Regions from separate parts of the Homo sapiens genome. Here region 1 is linked to region 2. Evidence: promoter capture Hi-C in human tissues and cell types (Jung and others, 2019). All regions are on one chromosome and are shown on one strand. The core of a region is centred on a gene start or on the middle of the fragment in contact, and the rest is flanking DNA. Distances in the headings are between cores, read along the strand shown.

What was found. The method cuts DNA at HindIII sites, captures the fragments that hold promoters and counts their contacts. A contact is called where the count stands out against the background at its distance.
Region 1: a contact is called between a fragment that was not itself captured here and the fragment with the promoter of ADO in region 2, in 1 of the 25 tissues and cell types used here (dorsolateral prefrontal cortex).

Annotation. Positions count from the first base shown.
Region 1 is chr10:61,980,188-61,982,887 of GRCh38, forward strand. The region is part of intron 3 of ARID5B (AT-rich interaction domain 5B); the gene reads left to right. Among named protein-coding and RNA genes, the nearest start is that of ARID5B, 80 kb to the left of the region's middle. The HindIII fragment of the contact is 6,104 bases long and covers 1-2,700 here.
Region 2 is chr10:62,803,436-62,806,135 of GRCh38, forward strand. ADO (2-aminoethanethiol dioxygenase) reads left to right here and starts at 1,285. Exons shown (of 1, transcript NM_032804.6): 1 at 1,285-2,700. The coding sequence starts at 1,625. The coding sequence ends at 2,437. RefSeq lists enhancers at 1,040-1,299, 1,770-1,889 and a silencer at 1,340-1,589. The HindIII fragment of the contact is 8,494 bases long and covers 1-2,700 here.

The DNA of each region.
Region 1 (2,700 bases), core at 76-2,575, 820 kb before region 2:
TATGGAGGAAGGGGCTCAGGAGGGCAAAGTGCCTAGAGGCTAATGGAAGCCACAGGCAGTGCTGTCTTTACCTGGTCACAGTCTCCCTAGAAGACAGTGACTCTGTCATTTTACAGAGCCAGAGAATGAAGCCCTTCTTTGCCCATGGTTACAAATCCAGTGCCTGTTTCATATTTCTCCTCCTTATGCTGCCTCTTCATAAGGCATCGCCTTGATTTCTTCTTAAAACGATTTATTCTGGGGCTGATTTTTCCCAACCTTAATGTAATTGTACTTTAATCAATAAAAAATTTCCTGTGGAACAACTGGGAGGGGTGGGGAGGAGAGAAGCCCAGCAAATGTGAATTGTTGTTTATTTGTCTCTCTTAAACAATGTTTCACGTTAAACCAGTTGCAAATGAAATGAATTGTATTATAACCATCTTGGAAAAATAGCTGCTGATCTCATAAATTCATCGAGCTTCCTGGTTCCAAAGCCCTCTCTTACAATAATAGTAAGTGTTGCTGTGCTCAGTAAATATCTGCCTCCACTTGGCTGGTAGTGAAGGAACTAGAATGGCAAACCCAAGATGGGCCCCCCTTCTGCCTCCTCCAAAATCACAGGTTTTGTGCTGACCCTGAACAGGAATGGAGAGGAACATGGCTTCCCAGGACAGTGACTACTGTCCTGTCTCCTAGGATGCCAGTATCCCAAATATCATCACTCACCCAGTAGGTTGCTCCTCTGGGCACCTCCACTGCCTTGCGTCTGTTCTCAGTGCTGCTTCCGTGGCATCTGCCTTTGTGTCATCGGTTCATCTGGGCACAGGCCTCTCTCAGAACTTATAAGCAGTGGCTATGACTGTGGGCTTTGGAATCAGACAGACCTGGGTTCCAGAGTCACCTTGAACAGGTTGCTTAATCTCTCTAAGCCTCAATTTCCTCATCTATAAAATGGAAGCAGTAAACTTATCCCTCATAGGATTGCTACAGTGATGAAATACACATCAAGGGCTTAGAGCTTGCCTGTCTGTAGTGCATGTTCAATCAAAGGCAGCTGTATTCTAGCAGGACAGTGCAATAACTGAACACTCTTGGTGGGTAGCCTGAGTTTTGTTTTGTTTGTTTGTTTGGAGACAGAGTCTTGCTCTGTCACCCAGGCTGGAGTGCAGTGGCGCACTTTCCACTCACCGCAATCTCTGCCTCCCGGGTTCAAGCGATTCTCCTGCCTCACCCTCCCAAGTAGCTGGGATTACAGGAGCATACCACCACACCCAATTAATTTTTATATTTTTAATAGAGACAGGGTTTTGCTATGTTGGCCAGGCTGGTCTCAAACTCCTGACCTCAAGTGATCCACCCGACTCAGCCTCCCAAAGTGCTGGGATTATAGGCATGAGTCACCATGCCTGGCCTGAGGTTTTTATCTTTTTTTTCCCTGTAGTTTGGCATTAAATGTCATAATGACTGTGGTGTTAATAAACATCAGGAAGTGTGCTTGGCAGTTTGCAAACTGGACCTTATCTTACCTGTTCAGGTGTGTGAGATCTTCTCAGAGATGGAACAAGTTCCTCAAGTTTATGATCTCAAAACCCACAATGTCTGTTCCTCAATGCAGGTCTCTTAACACCTGTCTGTTACATTATGTTGGTCATCCAAGGATGCATTAAGCAGAAAAGAAACACCTCACCTAGGTGTTACTAAATTCCATTATCCTCCTGTCAGACGTCCATGGTGGGAGAGACTTTGGTCCCCACCAACCTGGGTTTCTGCAGGGTTTCACTACCTGCCTTTTTATAGAGTCTTGTATAAGACAAATGGCATTTTAAGCTGTTTTTCTTTTTGCAGGTTTGGAAATCTTATTTAAATCAATGTAATGAGACACTTTGAACAAAATGTAATCATTCTCACTTCTCCACGTGTTGGAAGAAGCAGTATAGAGTTGGAGACTTGGGGTTAGATTAGAGCTGGCTGTCTTCACAGATTTGCATCCTTGCCGTGTGCTCTGAGTTGTCACAGTGTATCAGATAGGTGGGATGTTTTTGCCTCTGTGCTAAGTAAATTACATTCTAGAAGAATTAAGAGGGCTGTTATTTCATGGTGATTTTTTAAAAAAAGTCAGACACCCCAGAACCGAGCTAGAATTGTTGGACCAGTTTTCTTCCCTTTTCTTCTTGGCCTCCTTCTTGTCAAGAACAACTGTTCTCCAGTTTTCAAGAAGGCTCTGTTGAAGTGGAAACATAAGCCTCCATTAAAGTATAAGGGTTTGCGAGGAGGTCAAGGGAGTCATTACTTTGTCTTTTACAACAAGGATGTATTTATATATTCTGAGTTAAAAAAAATGCTTTTAAAGAAGGTGTGAGCAAAGATAAAAATTATTTCTTACAGCTAAAGAAAAGTAGTCTCTTCATCGTTATCCATGAGGGAATAACTCATTGACACTTATAAAAGAGCGTCCTAGCCCAAGATATCATGTGGTGGGAAATTTGATTGGAAGAATCTCTTCCACTAACTTGTGCATGAGAATATTTGTTCCAGCTCCAAAGCCTTAGAAGCTGTTAGAGAAAGGTGGGAGGGTATTTGGCTGGCCTTGGGAAATGGTAACCTAACACTGGAAGCCCCTTGCTTTTGTTCTCCTTATTGTACATAAGAAGATGAGATTTTATTTCCAGATTTCAAAACACGGACCAACTTGCAATAAGAAATAAACCCCCGCCAAGG
Region 2 (2,700 bases), core at 35-2,534:
TTTACACCAATTCAAGCTGCTGTTTTTGGTAAGACTGTACTTATTTCTGCTCTGCTGCTCATGCTTTGCTGGGTACTTAGTATTCACTATCCTACAACTTATTCCCTCATCTGCAATCTGGGAATAATAATAGTGCCTGCCTCTTAAGAGTTGCTGCAAGGATTAAATAGTATAACATTCATTATATAATGCACTTAACACAGTGCCTGGCATATTGTGAGTACTCATTAGCCAGGTTATGTAATCCACTTTAAAAAGTATGCCTATTTTAACTGGAGAGGATTCACTGAACCACTCCAATTACAAAATGTACAAGAAACCCATGTTCAGCTTTGGAATCCAAAAAGACTTTAAACTCAGGGTTAAGTTTAAAGTCATAGTATCTAATGTCTTGCTTTTCTAGTCATTTACTTATGCCAAAAGTTAGTTCACGCCAAGGAGAAGGATGCCTCTGTGTAGTGAAACAATTTCACAATTACTGACTGAACTGACTGTTGCACACCACTATTTCTCCTAGGATGCCTCAGAACCATCTAGTAACTCCATCTCTGGGTGACGACAGGGAATCTGCATTTATAAAAGCCCGCTCCCCCTTCTCAGGCAAACCAAGATTTGATAACCACTAGTATGTTCAGAATCCACGACCACTGTAAATGGCCTCTCAAGTCTCTCCAGCAAAAAGCTATACTGCTCTGTAACCAGAAGAGCAGCGTCATCAGGTCCTGATGCAAACAACAGCTGGGCCCAGCTGGGCCCAGCTGGGCCGAGTAACCTTGATGATCACAGAGGACGGCCTGGACCCCCTCCCCTCCTAGGAAACACAAAATTATAAAAGCGCCCTCCTGCAATTCCCGTGGGAGACAGTGCTGCCTAGGCCGCTACGAGGAGCTAAGGCTGACTCAACAGCCTCCTTCCCAGGGGCAAGGCCAAAGGAAGGCGACCCTGCATGGCTAACCAGGCCCCAGCGCGGCGCCAGAAGGTTAACGACCCTCCCTGCCCCTTTCCTTATGAAGGCCAAGAGCCTCCACTACTCCGGGGGCCAGCTGACGGAAGTGCGTCACTCCACCCTGCGGGGAGTGCCGGGAGTTGTAGTCAAGTGGCTACTAATCTTCCACCCCGATTCATCTTTTCTAAAACAAGAAAAACACCTCTGCATCCTGAAAAAGATCGCTTTATGCCCAACATGTGTAATAGTTCCTCTATTTTCCAATCAACAAACTGAACTATCTCAGAGCTCAAGCGGAAGGCCGGACTACAAGTCCCGGCATGCTCCGCAGGGTCCCCGGGCGCCCGGCCACCGTCGTAGGTGCGGGCCGCATGAATGGAGCGCCGGGCGTAAGGCAAAGCCTGGCACCGTCTGCGCGGCCGCTATCTGCTCCCGGAGCGTGAGTGCGGGGTGTGGGGCGTGCGCGTGCGCGCTCAGAGGGGGCTCAAGGCGAGCGCGCCGGGCAGTTGCGGGCGCGTGGCTGCTGAGGTTGGCGGCGGTGCCGCGCGCCCGACGGGCCGGTGGTTGCGGGGCCTCCCGCCTCGACCCGGGCTGGGGGCAGCCGTGGCGGCCGCCGGGGACCGCAAGGGGCGGAGGAAAGGAGGGGGCCGGTCCCGGCACGCAGAGGAGCAGCCGACCATGCCCCGAGACAACATGGCCTCCTTGATCCAACGGATCGCCCGCCAGGCTTGCCTCACCTTCCGGGGCAGCGGGGGCGGCCGCGGCGCTTCCGATCGCGACGCGGCTTCTGGCCCGGAGGCGCCGATGCAGCCGGGCTTCCCCGAGAACCTGAGCAAGCTGAAGAGCCTCCTGACCCAGCTCCGCGCCGAGGACTTGAACATCGCCCCGCGCAAGGCCACACTGCAGCCGCTGCCGCCCAACCTGCCGCCAGTCACCTACATGCACATCTACGAGACGGACGGCTTCAGCCTGGGCGTGTTCCTGCTCAAGAGCGGCACGTCCATCCCGCTGCACGACCACCCGGGCATGCACGGCATGCTCAAGGTGCTGTACGGCACCGTGCGCATCAGCTGCATGGACAAGCTAGACGCGGGCGGCGGGCAACGGCCGCGGGCCTTGCCGCCCGAGCAGCAGTTCGAGCCGCCGCTGCAGCCCCGGGAGCGAGAAGCCGTGCGGCCGGGCGTGCTGCGTTCGCGGGCCGAGTACACCGAGGCCAGCGGCCCCTGCATCCTCACACCGCACCGGGACAACCTGCACCAGATCGACGCCGTGGAAGGGCCTGCCGCCTTCCTGGACATCCTGGCCCCGCCCTACGACCCGGACGATGGCCGGGACTGCCACTATTACCGGGTGCTGGAGCCGGTCAGGCCCAAGGAGGCCTCCAGCTCGGCCTGTGACCTGCCTCGAGAGGTGTGGCTCCTGGAGACCCCACAGGCCGATGACTTCTGGTGCGAGGGAGAACCCTATCCAGGTCCCAAGGTCTTCCCTTGAAGCCACTGGCGCCCAGGAGCGGTGGGCCGAAGACGTGCCCTACCCTACCACAAGGGCTGTGTCTCTACCCCCTAGCCTGGGCGTTGGATCTACTGGAATGAGCAGCAGCCGCTTCCTCGGCAGCCTTGGGAAGCACGGGCGACTGGACAGCAGCCGCCGGGCACGGTTATGGGGGCGGGGTGGGCGGGGAGGCTAGATTGTTTCCTGGTACTGTCACTGCCACTGGGGCTTTGATTTGGAGGAATGGGGCAGGGGACTATCTG